Linked DNA regions of Homo sapiens: region 1 is linked to region 2. The links are contacts of gene promoters, found by promoter capture Hi-C in human tissues and cell types (Jung and others, 2019). All regions are on one chromosome and are shown on one strand. The core of a region is centred on a gene start or on the middle of the fragment in contact, and the rest is flanking DNA. Distances in the headings are between cores, read along the strand shown.

What was found. The method cuts DNA at HindIII sites, captures the fragments that hold promoters and counts their contacts. A contact is called where the count stands out against the background at its distance.
Region 1: a contact is called between a fragment that was not itself captured here and the fragment with the promoter of ZNF534 in region 2, in 1 of the 25 tissues and cell types used here (bladder).

Annotation. Positions count from the first base shown.
Region 1 is chr19:52,125,043-52,131,729 of GRCh38, forward strand. ZNF616 (zinc finger protein 616) reads right to left here. Exons shown (of 4, transcript NM_178523.5): 2 at 5,459-5,546. The coding sequence starts at 5,470. Among named protein-coding and RNA genes, the nearest start is that of ZNF616, 12 kb to the right of the region's middle. The HindIII fragment of the contact is 6,561 bases long and covers 1-5,060 here.
Region 2 is chr19:52,426,938-52,433,541 of GRCh38, forward strand. ZNF534 (zinc finger protein 534) reads left to right here and starts at 2,211. Exons shown (of 5, transcript NM_001143938.3): 1 at 2,211-2,307; 2 at 4,471-4,552. The coding sequence starts at 4,538. The HindIII fragment of the contact is 9,448 bases long and covers 1-6,602 here.

The DNA of each region.
Region 1 (6,687 bases), core at 530-3,029, 300 kb before region 2:
TACTTGGAGATTGGGCATTGGAGATTAAGTTTCAAATGAATTGTGGAGGAGAGAAAAACACTCAGACCACAGCATTCCATCTTGCCCCACCAAAATTCATGTACTCCTCACATATAAAATGCATTCCATCCCAATGGCCCCCCAAAGTCTTAACTTTTTCTACTACCAATTCAAAAGTCTATAGTCTACAGCTGCATCTAACTATAATCTAAATCAGATATGGGTGAGACTCAAAAATGTGTTTCATCCTGAGGCAAACTGCTCTCCAGCTGTGAACGTGTGAAATCAAACGACTTAAGTGCTTCCAACATCCAACGGTGGCGTAGACACAGGCTAAATATTTCAACTCCAAAATGCAGAAACAGGAAAGAAGAGGTAGCCACTCCCATGTTAAGTCTGAAACTCAAATAGGGCACACATATTAAATCTTAAGGCTTGACAATAATCTTCTTTGACTCTATGTCCCACCTTCTAGACATCCTGGAGTAGGAGTTAGGTCCCCAGTGTCCTGGGGATCCCTGCCCCATTAGTTTTGTTGGGATCACCCACATGGAACTTCTCACAGGCTGTGGTTTCCCGAGCTGGGATCACATACTGGTGACTCTACAGTTCTGGGGTCTCAGGCGTGGTCCTGCTTCCAGGGCTCCCCTTGACCTTGCCCTAATAAGCACTCTCTAAGGTGTCCCTGCCTCCATGGCTAGGCTGAGAATTGCCTTAGTGGTGACCTCCTGTGGTAGCACTGAAAGGAACAGGATGAAAGGTTAGGGGCCACTGAGCAAAAAGATAACTGACGTAAACCGGTGTCTGCAATAACACAGAAAGACATGAGGGTGAAGATCTAGTACCACAGATATCTGCAGTACCAGAGTCTATCCACAATAGTACAGAAAATAGGGGAGCTTCTGAGTAGAAAGCAGCAAACCTCTTCAATAGGGAGATGACAAGCAAAGGCCCAGAGAAAAAGCATGGGAAGTCTCCAGAATCTAGGGTAGTTGATTGGAATGTCCTCCCTGAACAAAGCAGCCACCAAATCTGGGCAGGCAGCTGATTTTTTCAAATGCTGAAGTCACAAAAGAAGACAATAAAACATACAAAGAAACAGGGAAATACGGTCTACAAAAAGAAACCAACTGAATCTGTACAAACCTACATGAAAGAAATGGCAATTTACATCTTGGCTTTGAAGAATTAAAAAGAAATGTGGGCCGGGCATGATTGCTCACAACTGTAATCCCAGGACTTTCAGAACGCCAGGCAGGAAGATCACTTCAGAGCAGGAATTCGAGACCAGCCTGGCCAACATTATGAAACCCCATCTCTACTAAAAATACAAAAATTAGCCAGGCATGGTGGCACATGCCTGTAATCTGAGGCTGAGGCATGAGAATTGCTTGAACAGGAGGCAGAGGTTGCAGTGAGCTGAGATCCCACCCCTGCACTCCAGCCTCGGCAATAGAGTGTGACTCTGTCTCCAAAAATAAAGAAAATGCGAAGGTAGGCAGATCACCTGAGGTCAGGAGTTTAAGACCAGCCTGGCCAACACGGTGAAACCCCGTCTCTACTAAAAATACAAAAATTAGCCAGGTGTGGTGGCACGTGCCTGTAGTCCCAGCTACTCAGGGAGACTGAGGCAGGACAATTGCCCGAACCCAGGAGGCAGAGGTTGCAGTGAGTCGAGATCATGCCACTGCACTCCAGCCTGGGCGACAGAGCGAGACTCCATCTCAAAAAATAAATAATAAATAATTAAATAAAATAAAGAAAATGAAGAGAGTCTAATGGGCCCATGAAAAACCATCAAGCACCAAGAACATATGCATTCTGGGAGTCCAACAAATAATGTGAATATATCTAACATTACTGAACTTTACATAAGCAAACAAGCTTTAATGAAAGACATAATAAAGATATTATCAAAGACTGACAAACTCGATTCTTTTTGGAAGACATGGTGACATAAAGGCCTGCAACTGAAAAAATTCAGAGCCATGAAAACACAAACAAAATATGTGGGAATTTTTTTTTTTTTTAGAAGACAGAGTCTCACTGTCACCCAGGCAGGAGTGCAGTGGCACGATCTCAGCTCACTGCAACCTCCACCTCCCAAGTTCAAGGGATTCTCCTGCCTCGGCCTCCCAGGTAGCTAAGATTAAAGACGTGCACCATCATGTCCGGCTAATATTTGTATTTTCAGTAGAGACAGGGTTTCACCATGTTGGCCAGGCTGGTCTTGAACTCCTGACCTCAGGTGATCCACCCACCTTGGCCTCCCAAAGTGCCTGGATTACAGGTGTGAGCCACCACACCCGGCCAATATGTGGAATTTAAATAATATGTGGCTGTGTTGTGTAAAAGGAGAACCATAATAATTTTGGAAAGAAAATGGAGGGGTTTGCCAATCTACTTGTGAACCTATTATGTTATTTATAATCTAAAACTTTATAATCAAATATAATCTACAACAAGATATACAGAAAAATTCAAATTAAAGATTCAAGCAAATAAAATGTAAGCAACAAAATATTAGATCTTAAAAAAACACAGTATTTTATAATCACACAGCGAGCCAGGCCTTCCAAAGAAAGATCAGTTATTTATTTTTGCTTTTGTGGTATAGCGTCCTAACAGAAGCAACCACTCTTTAAACTGTCCAACCTGAAGGAACCCTCAAACACCTGTGGTGAAGAGAGCATTGTGGCAGCCATGGTGAAAAATTATAAAAGATCCATATGTCTTCATTTAGAGATTGTTCCAAAGAGGATGCAAAACAAGCTATTACTGCTTATTAACAAAAAAAGATGTATCTTTGAAAAACTGGCACAATGAAATTTCACAACAGAACATGTACTGAAGAATTGTTTTCTAAAATCTCATAATGACACGTAAATGCATCTTGACACCTCTCACTGACTCTTGCCACAGAACTTACAACTGTAGCTCCCCACGGAAACATGAGGGATGATGGAGAAAGTGACAGGGAAAAGAAACCCGGGTTCCTCCAGGTTGGGTAACTGAAAGAGTGATTGCCTCTTTAGGATGGTGCATTTCCTATTTTCCTGGATCTGGCAAGATTTCCCACTACCCTAAGGTGCAATGGTGTCCTCATACACCAACGACACATATTGGGTGGATTTCCCACCCAATAAAAAAAAAAAAAAAAAACTTACTACTATGTTCTGTTTACATTTTGAGGCTATGGGGAAAATGAAAACCCTTCGTATTTCCATTTTCCAATTCCTTGGACTGTGAGGAGGTTTCATTATTTTGTGGAAATCAAACCAAAATAATTTTCATTCTTTGCTCAGTTTTCCTTTACTGCATTCTAGGAGCCATTTCATATTCTGTAGTTAAATTTTTAAAATATATATGCCTTGATGTCCTTTTCTTAGGTTATAAATTTCTTTCTGTGTAAAACTAAAGCTGGGCACGGTGGCTCATGCCTGTAATCCCAGCATTTTGGGAGGCCAAAGCGGGTGGATCACCTGAGGCCGGAAGTTTGAGACCAGCCTGACCAACATAGAGAAACTCTGTCTCTACTAAAAATACAAAATTAGCCAGGCACGGTGGTGCATGCCTGTGGTCCCAGCTACTCAAGAGGCTTAGGCAGAAGAATCGCTTGAACCTGGGAGGCGGAGGCTGCAGTGAGCCAAGATTGCGCCATTGCACTCCAGCCTGGGCAACAAGACGAAACTCCGTCTCAAAAAAAAAAAAAAAAGCTAAAATGTTTCCTTGATGCCCATTTTTGTTTGCTGATAAATTACATTGTGTATATTTAAGGTATACAACATGGTATTATGGTATGGATAGTAAAAAAAAAAGTCATTAGAGTTTAACAAATTAACACACCCATCATCTCACAGTTACTTTTTTTTTTTTTCCCTCTGTTTTGGCCAGAACAGCTAAAATCTCATTTAGCATGAATTTCATATATAATAAAACATTATTTACAGGCTGGGTGTGGTGGTTCACACTGTAATCCCAGCACTTTGGGAGGCTGAGGCAGGCGGATCATCTGAGATCAGGAGTTCGAGACCAGCCTGGCCAACATGATGAAACCCCCCACCATCTCCACTAAAAATACAAAAATGAGCCAGGCGTGGTGGTGCACGCCTGTAATCCCAGCTATTGGGAGGCTGAGGCAAGAGAAAATCGGTTGAACCCGGGAGACAGAGGTTGCAGTGAGTCGAGATCACGCCATTGTAGTCCGGCCTGGGTGACAAGAGCGAGACTCCGTACAAAACAAAAAGCAAAAAACAAAACAAAATTATTTCCTATCATCCTCGTGTTGTATTAACTTCTTAATGCCTAAACTGCATCTCTGCTTGAAATTTTACCAAAAAAACAAATATATACATCATGTGATGTTTAAAATAAATATAATATTTAATAATAATTGGTGCAGTGAGAGAATTTGGCTCCATCTTCTCTGATAACAAATGTTCAGCTCTTACATCTGAGCAAAATTATAACCTTAAAACTTAAAACAACTGCTGGTAAGAGTCCCCGCAGGAACACCGCAGTCTCTGTGAGATGGATATTCTGACCATGGCTAGAATCTGACATTCAGGTTGATTTCATATTTTTAAATCAATGATGGAATAAAACACGCTCTAATGTCTGTATCTAGTTTTCCATTCAATTCCCTGTCATTAAGGCAGTTAGAAATAGTGACTCATTCATACAGCTTCAAATGTAGTATAAAATCAGGCAGAAAGATCTCCCCTTACACGCCTCCTTTTCCATATTTTTTTTTTTTTTGAGGATGAAGTCTTGCTCTGTCACCCAGGCTGGGGTGCAGTGGCACCATCTTGGCTCACTGCAACCTCCACCTCCGGGTTCAAGCTATTCTCCCGCCTCAGCCTCCTGAGTAGCTGGGATTACAGGCCCCTGCCACCATGACTGGCTAATTTTTGTATTTTCAGTAAAGACGAGGTTTCACCATGTTGGCTCAAACTCCTGAGCTCAAGTGATCCGCCCACCTCAGCCTCCTAAAGTGCTGAGATTACAGGCATGAGACACGGCGCCTGGCCCCTTTCGATAATTTACTAGGTATTTATGCACATTAATATGTGACTTCCACATGCAGCTTCTCTATTCCTGGTCTACAGAAAGCTGACAGTGCATCCAGATGTGGCCCCTAAACAATCCCTGCTGCCCAACAGCTCTGATACCACGGGACCCTCACCCCATCTCCATCCATGTCTGGGTGTGAGCCCTTCCCAGGACCATGCCCAGTGCAGCCTCTTCCCAAGTTCATGTCACTGGATCATGGTGAGATGGAATCTAAATAAGATGAGAGGAACTGAGGAAAAGCATGGATGAGCATGAGCAAATGTGTCAGGAAGGACACTTCAGACTCAGAGAAGATTTGCAACTCCGACGCCCTGTACTTCACAAAGGAAGGAGACAGAATGACCCACCAAGAATATCACTTCACTTGAGTAAAGTATCACTCTACCTGAGTAGCCATCACTGACTCCTTTTCCTTCCTCTTCTTCCTCTTCTGGGTTTCTTTCTCAGTCAATGTAATTATTCACACATCAAACCTGAAAGTTAAAAAATCTGTTGTTTAATGCTTGGAAACAACACATTCCTTTCTGTGTCACAACCATGCACACAGGGAAGAACTCAGCCTGTGGAGAGACAGCCCACTGCACCAGGGGGGATGCAAGAATAATAAATTCCTACACAAAGACCAAGTGAATCTTTCACCGTTTTCTTCAGCATTAGCTCCCCTCTGGGAGAAGCCCACACACAGGCTGCAGCAGTGTGTAGCTAGGCTGGACTGAGCTCCCATTCAGGGCACGGACCTATCCCTGATCAAACCCCATGCAGCGCACAGCCCCCCGTCACCTCTGTGGGTCACAGGCTGAGCTCTGCCCTCGGAAATGGGGGACACAGAGGCTGGAAGCTCAATGCTGGATACAAATGAGAATCAACTTGGGGCTGGGAGCGGTGGCTCATGCCTGTAATCCCAGCACTTTGGGAGGTCGAGGCGGGTGGATACCTGAGGTCAGGAATTCGAGACCAGCCTGGCCAACATGGTGAAACACCCTCTCTACCAAAAACACAAAAATTAGCCAGGCATGGTGGCACACCCCTTAAATCCCAGTTACTTGGGAGGCTGAGGCAGGAGAATCACTTGAACCTGGGAGGCGGAGGTTGCAGTGAGCCAAGATCAAGCCACTGCACTCCAGCCTGGGCGACAGAGACTCTGTCACCAAAAAAAAAAAAAAAAAAAAAAAAAATCAACTTGGGTACCTAAAACATTACGGAGGCTGGGCCCCACCCTAACTACTGGAAGGAGAATCTCTATAAGGGGGAATGAACCATGTGTTACAAATGCCTTGGCACTCTAGTGTGAAGCGAGGGTTGAGTAGTCTCAAAGGGGGCAAGACTACCACAGCCCCAGTCTCCCAGCTCTGACCTCCCCTTGGGGCCTTGCTGTCACCAGTCTGTAGAAAGTGGAAGGCAAAGGGCCAGAAAGAAACACACAGAGCAGAAAATATGGACCTGCCTTTATTGGCTTTTATTTGCAATCCTAGAATCAGACAACACCTCATTCTTAAAATGAAAGGAGTGTTCTGTGAGCTAAGGGGAGGAGGTTGGCTTCATAAGCTGAAAGGGGCTGAATGGAGCAAAATCAGGAAACTAAAAGCATGTTGGTTGTTTCAAAGTTACTTTTCT
Region 2 (6,604 bases), core at 961-3,460:
AGAATCTCAGCGCGACATCACTGAGGTACAGCCAGTTGCATTTCACTAGGCTCAAGAGGATTGCTGCCTCAAGCAGGATAACCAGGCCTGCCTGGAACAGTGCCATAGTCCGGGATCCCAGTGACCTGGGTGAGAAGTTGCTATTCAGGTCAAAGAAAATTTCTTCAGGTGACCCCACTGTCTCTAGCCAATAGTCCTGCTTGTGGATCTTACGTATTTGTGTTTCAAAACTACCTGAGGTCCTGATGTGGGGTCCTTACCTCCTGTGCACAGTGACTCATGCCTGTAATTTGAGTACTTTGGGAGTGTAGACAGAAGGAAAACTTGAGGCCAGAACTTGGACACCCGGCTGGGCAACAAAGTGAGACTCCATCTCTACAAAGTAATAATAATATATAAAACTAAAAAATTAGCACAGTCCAATGTCACAGGCCTGTACTTCCAGCTACTCGGGAGACTGAGGTAGGAGGTGCCCATGACCCCAGGAAGTCAAGGTTGTAGTGAGCTATGATTGTGCCACTGCACTCCAGCCTGGATGTCACAGGTTGATTCCCTGTCTTTAAAAAAAAAAAAAAAGTCTTAAACTAAATAATTTATACCTATTTTTAAAGTTATTGGCTTTTTTAAAAAGAGTTGGTGACCTGACTTCACACTGACCTTAGTCCTCTATGCCCAAGGTGGTGTCCCTAGGAAAGTTTCTGGAATTGAGCACAGGGTTGACCTCACCCTCTGGAGTGAATGGGGAATGTAAATGAAAAGTATTTCTAGCCGGGCGCGGTGGCTCACGCCTGTAATCCCAGCACTTAGGGAGGCTGAGGCGGGCGGATCATGAGGTCGGGAGATCGAGACTACGGTGAAACCCAGTCTCTACTAAAAATACAAAAAAAATTAGCCAGGCATGGTGGCGGGTGCCTGTAGTACCAGCTACTCGGGAGGCTGAGGCAGGAGAATGGTGTGAACCCGGGAGGCGAAGCTTGCGGTGAGCCGAGATTGTGCCACTGCACTCCAGCCTGGACGACAGAGCAAGACTCCATCTCAAAAAAAAAAAAAAAAGTATTTCTATTCTATGGGGCATTGGCATGATACTGCGCATTCCACTCTGGCAGGGTTTAGCATTTCACACTTTAGCTTCCATCCCCTTCACAGATAGTTCCAAAGTGTCTTAATTCCTAAAATTTGTCTTTCTGGCTGGGCATAGTGGCTCACGCCTGTAATCCCAACACTCTGGGAGGCCGAGGCGGGCAGATCACCTGAGGTCAGAAGTTCAAGACCAGCCTGGCCATGGTGAAACCCCGTCTCTACTAAAAATACAACAAATTAGTCGGGTGTGGTGGTGCGCACCTGTAATCCCAGCTACTCGGGAGGCTGAGGCAGGAGAATCACTTGAACCTGGGAGGCATAGGTTGCAGTGAGCCGAGATCTCATCATTGAGCTTCAGCCTGGGCAACGAGCGAAACTCTCAAACAAACAAACAAACAAAAAAAATGTCTTTCTTTCGTTCTTTCTTGTCTCTCCCTTTTTCTCACACACAGGCACAGACACCTACATTCTTTTCTTTGTTGCACTATTTCTCTCTAGTCTTATTTTCTTTCTTTCTTTTCTTTTTTTTTTTTTTTTTTGAGACGGAGTCTCACTCCATCGCCAGGCTGGAGTGTAGTGGTACGATTTCGGCTCACTGCAACCCTGCCTCCCGGGTTCAAGTGATTCTCCTGCCTCAGCCTCCCGAGTAGCTGGGACTACAGGCGCCCACCACCACACCCAGCTAATTTTTGTGTTTTTAGTAGAGACGGGGGTTTCATCATGTTGGCCAGGATGGTCTCGATCTCCTGACCTCGTGATCCGCCCGGCTTGGCCTCCCAAAGTGCTGGGATTACAGGAGTGAGCCACCGCACCCGGCCTTGTCTTTCTTTTTGCTTTCTTTTCACGCTCTCTTCTCTCTCTGCTTCCAGAGTAGTTGGGACTTAAAATTTATTGTAATAACAGGAATTCTCGTGGATCTAATCTAATCACCAACCGATTTTGCTCTGCCCCAGCAAGATCTGTTTACAGATCTGTTTACAGAAGTGCTGAGCAGATCTCGCCTCCAAAACCCTAAAACAGGATCGCTGAGTCAGACTGACAGAAGCATAGACCCCGCCTTGAGCCCGCCCTGTCCCGGCCCTGCCCTCGGCCCCGGGCCCGGCCTGTACGATGCGCGCGCAATTTCCTGCAGACCCGGAAGTCGAGATCATGGAGTGAACGTTTCGCGCGCTTTTTCCTGTAGACCCGGCACCCGACTGCGCGGAAAGACTGTCTAAGCCGCCACTCGTGAGTTTGCCTTTGTCTAGATTAAATTTAGGCTGCCCAGTTCCTGTGTGCTTCTACACCCGCGATCTGAGGGCTCATGCAGACCTTGAAGTCCCGGCACCGCTCTATCCACTCCAAGTAAATTCAGACATTCTCTAGAGAGTCTGGAGGTCGCTTACCTGCGTGTTAAAACCGCTTGGAGGCTTCTAGGCCGGGCGCGGTGCCTCACGCCTGTAATCCTGGCACTTTGCTATTTTTTTTTCATTTTTTGTAATTATTCAGTCTAGTTGATTGAATCCATTGATGTGTACCCCAGAGATACCAAGGGCTGACTTTAGACTGTATCTGCTCGTTAGTCACTTAATAGTCTTTTTTTTTTTTTTTTTCCTGAGACTGAGTTTTGCTCTTGTTGCCCAGGCTGGAGTGCAATGGCGTGATCTCGGCTCACTGCAAACTCCGCCTCCCGGATTCAAGCGATTCTCCCGCCTGGGCCTCCCGAGTAGCTGGGATTACAGGCATACGCCACCATGCCTCTCTAATTTTGTATTTTTAGTAGAGATGGGGTTTCACCATGTTGGCCAGGCTGGTCTCGAACTCCTGACCTCAGGTGATCTGCCCGCCTCATCCTTTCAAAGTGCTGGGATTACAGGCATGAGCCACCGTACTTGGCCAATAGTCTTTTGGATGAGATCCACTTTTATGGTATCTCAGTGCTTTTTTTTCATGTAACCCTTTTTTTTTTCCCTTAACAATGCCCTCCAGGCACATGAGTATTGATTGATGCTGACAATTTTTTTTTTGGGTTTTTTTGAGACAGAGTCTCACTCTGACGCCAAGGCTGGAGTGCAGTGGCACTGTGTTGGCTGACTGCAACCTCTGTCTCCTGGGTTCAAGCAATTCTCCTGCCTCAGTCTCCCGAGTAGCTGGGATTACAGGTGTCCACCACCACGGCCGGCTAGTTTTTATATTTTTAGTACAGACAGGGTTTGACCATGTTGGCCAGGCTGGTCTTGAACTCCTGACCTCAGGTGATCCACCTGCCTCGGCCTCCCAAAGTGCTGGGATTACAGGCGTGAGCCACTGCGCCCGGCCTTGATGCTGACAATTTGGATATGCCAGTGAGAAGCTGTAACATGGAGTCTTTAAGGGGAATTAATAGGGTTTAGTACTGATGGAGGTTTCAGGCATCCATTGGGGCTCTTGGAACATAGTGCACATCGATAAAAGGATTCTACTATAGTCTATATCTAGAATTGAGCACTGTGATCCACAGAGGGCTGAGGGGCCTGTGCTCTGCATGAGCTTTGGTCAGGGTGAGGTCTGTGCTTTTTTTTTGTTTTTTTTTGAGATAGAGTCGCACTCTGTCACCCAGGCTGGAGTGCAGTGTTAAAATCTTGGCTCACTGCAACCTCTGTCTCCTGGGTTCAAGCAATTCTCCTGCCTCAGCCTCCTAAGAGCTGGGATTATAGGTGCCTGCCATTACCCAGCTAAATTTTGTATTTTTAGGAGAGACGGGGTTTCACCATCTTGGCCAGGCTGATCTTGAACTCCTGACCTCGTGATCGACCTGCCTTGGCCTCTCAAAGTGCTGGGATTACAGGCGTGAACCACCACACATGGCCTTTTTTTTTTCTTTTTCTTTTTTAAGATGGAGTTTCACCCTGTCACCCAGGCTGGAGTGCAATGGTGCGATCTCGGCTCACTGCAACCTCTGCCTCCCAAGTTCAAGGGATTCTCCTGCCTCAGCTTCCTGAGTAGCTGGGATTACAGGCCCGTGTCACCACGCCCAGCTAATTTTTTGTATCCTTAGTAGAGACGAGGGTTTCATTATGTTGGCCAGGCTGGTCTCAAACTCCTGACCTCATGATCTGCCCACCTCGGCCTCCCAAAGTGCTAGGATTATAGGTGGGAGCCACCGCACCCGGCCAAGTCTGTGCTTTTAAGGGGAGCTTAGTCAAGCCCAGCTCTGCACTGCTGCAGTGTGTGTGTCGCTCACCATGAGACAGGAGAGAGTTTTGAGGAAGGGAGTAAAAAACTCACTTGTTGATTTTCCTGTGGGAGATCAACAGTAGGCAGCAGAGGACCATCCTTCCAGAAGGTGAAGTCTTCCCTTTTTGTGTGGCTGTGGCACAGGAAGTGGGTGTGTTGATTCTAAGCCCTAAACAGCATTATTTTTGATACTAGGATTCACTTTCAAAGAGACATATTATGCAAGGAAGCAACTCGGAAGAGGAAAGAAAGGAAGTCAGGAATGGCCCTTACTCAGGTAAGGTAATGTTCTCAGTGGATTGTTCTGTCTCTGTTTCTTCCTGAAATGCCAGGCATTGGAGTTGCTAATCTCTGACTCTGAAGCATCCTGCCTGACTCATTTCATTGCACTTACCCATGGCTTCTTCCAGTCCCTTTCACTTCCACTTAAGATTCCAGTTCCCTATGACCCAATGACATGAACTTGGGAAGAGGTTCCACTGGGCATGGTCCTGGGAAGTGCTCACACCCAGACACGGATGGAGATGGGGTGTGGGCCTTGTGGTGTCAGTGCTGTTGGGCAGCAGGGATTGTTCAGGGGCCACATCTGGATGCACTGTGAGTGTTCTGTGGACTAAGACTAGAGAAGCTGCATGTGGAATTCCTTTTTTTTTTTTTTTGAGACAGAGTCTCGCACTGTTGCCCAGGCTGGAGTGTGGTTTTGTGATCTCGGCCATATAAATGTATATGTGTACTAGTGTATATGAGTGTTAGTATATATATGTGTAAGTGTGTACATGTGATGTGTTTGCATGAGTGCACAGATGAGCAAACCTATAGTTTTTATAAATAGCATGTCATCATTATATATATATATATTTTTATCAGTTGAAATTACATCTATTTATCAGGATGTTCAAATTTTTCTACATTATCATGTATGATGATATGAGGCATCATACCTGATAGTGGCTATAAGAGGCAATGAGGCAATGGCTATAAGAACATTATAGTAATGTATTATGGGGATATCGATTATATATATGCATATATAATGAACTATTAGGCAATTCCATGTTTTTAATCCTTGAAGTTGTTTTAAATTTACTGAATTAGGTAACTGTCAATTTACTTTTGATGCTGATCTGTTACTTAACTGTCTGATTCTTTAGGTTTGATTCTCATGCTCAGACACCTGTGATCTGCTGCTTACTCTGCTGTTTCAGTTCTCACACCTGGGGCAAGCTAGCGTGTATGTGAAAGAGTTGTCTTTTTAGTAAGATAGGAGCAGATTATTCTTTCATTGGCTTTTGTTGCTGTACCAGTTAGTTCATGTAAATCATTGAGAATAGTGCCTATCACATGGGAAGTGTTCTATTCAGCCATTGCTGTTGTTATCATCGCAGTTTTCAGATTTTCACCATTTTTTATTTATTTTATTTATTTATTTATTTTTTTTGAGACAGGGTCTCGCCCTGTCACCCAGGCTGGAGTGCAATGATGCAATCTCGGCTCACTGCAACCTCTGCCTCCTGGCTTCAAGCCATTCTCCTGCCTCAGCCTCCTGAGTAGCTGGGATTACAGGTGCACACCTCCATGCCCAGCTCATTTTTTGTATTTAGTAGAGATGGGGTTTCACCATGTTAGCCAGTCTGGTCTCGAACTCCTTACCTCATGATCCACCTGCCTCGGCCTCCCAAAGTGCTGGGATTACAGGTGTGAGCCACTGCGCCCGGCCCAGATTTTGACCATTTTTAAAAACCACTATAGGTCGGATGTGGTAGCTCATGCCTGTAATCCCAGCATTTTTGGAGGCTGAGGTGGGAGGATCACTTGAGCTTAGGCCTTTGAGACAAGCTTGGACAATGTGGTGAGACTCTATCTCTACAAAACATACAAAAATTAGCTGGGCATAGTGGTGTGAGCCTGTAGTCCCAGCTACTCGGGAGGCTTAAGAGGATCACTTGAGCCTGGGAGGCAGAGGTTGCAGTGGGTGGATATCACACCCCTGCACTCCAGTCTGGGAAACAGTAAGATCCTATCTCAAAAAAAAAAAAAAAAAAAAAAAAGAAAGAAAGCACTGTAGACATTGTCATCTCTGAAGACACTACTTGTATCTCAGGTAGATACTAAATGTCACTTGATGTGTCAAAAATAAAACCTAACATTTCTTTCTCTTTTTGGGGGGGGGAGGGGACGGAGTCTCACTCTGTCACCCAGGCTGGAGTGCAGTGGCGCAATCTCAGCTCACTGCAATGTCCCACTCCTGGGTTCACACCATTCTCCTGCCTCAGCCTCCTGAGTAGCTGGGACTACAGACCCCCACCACCGCGCCTGGCTAATTTTTTGT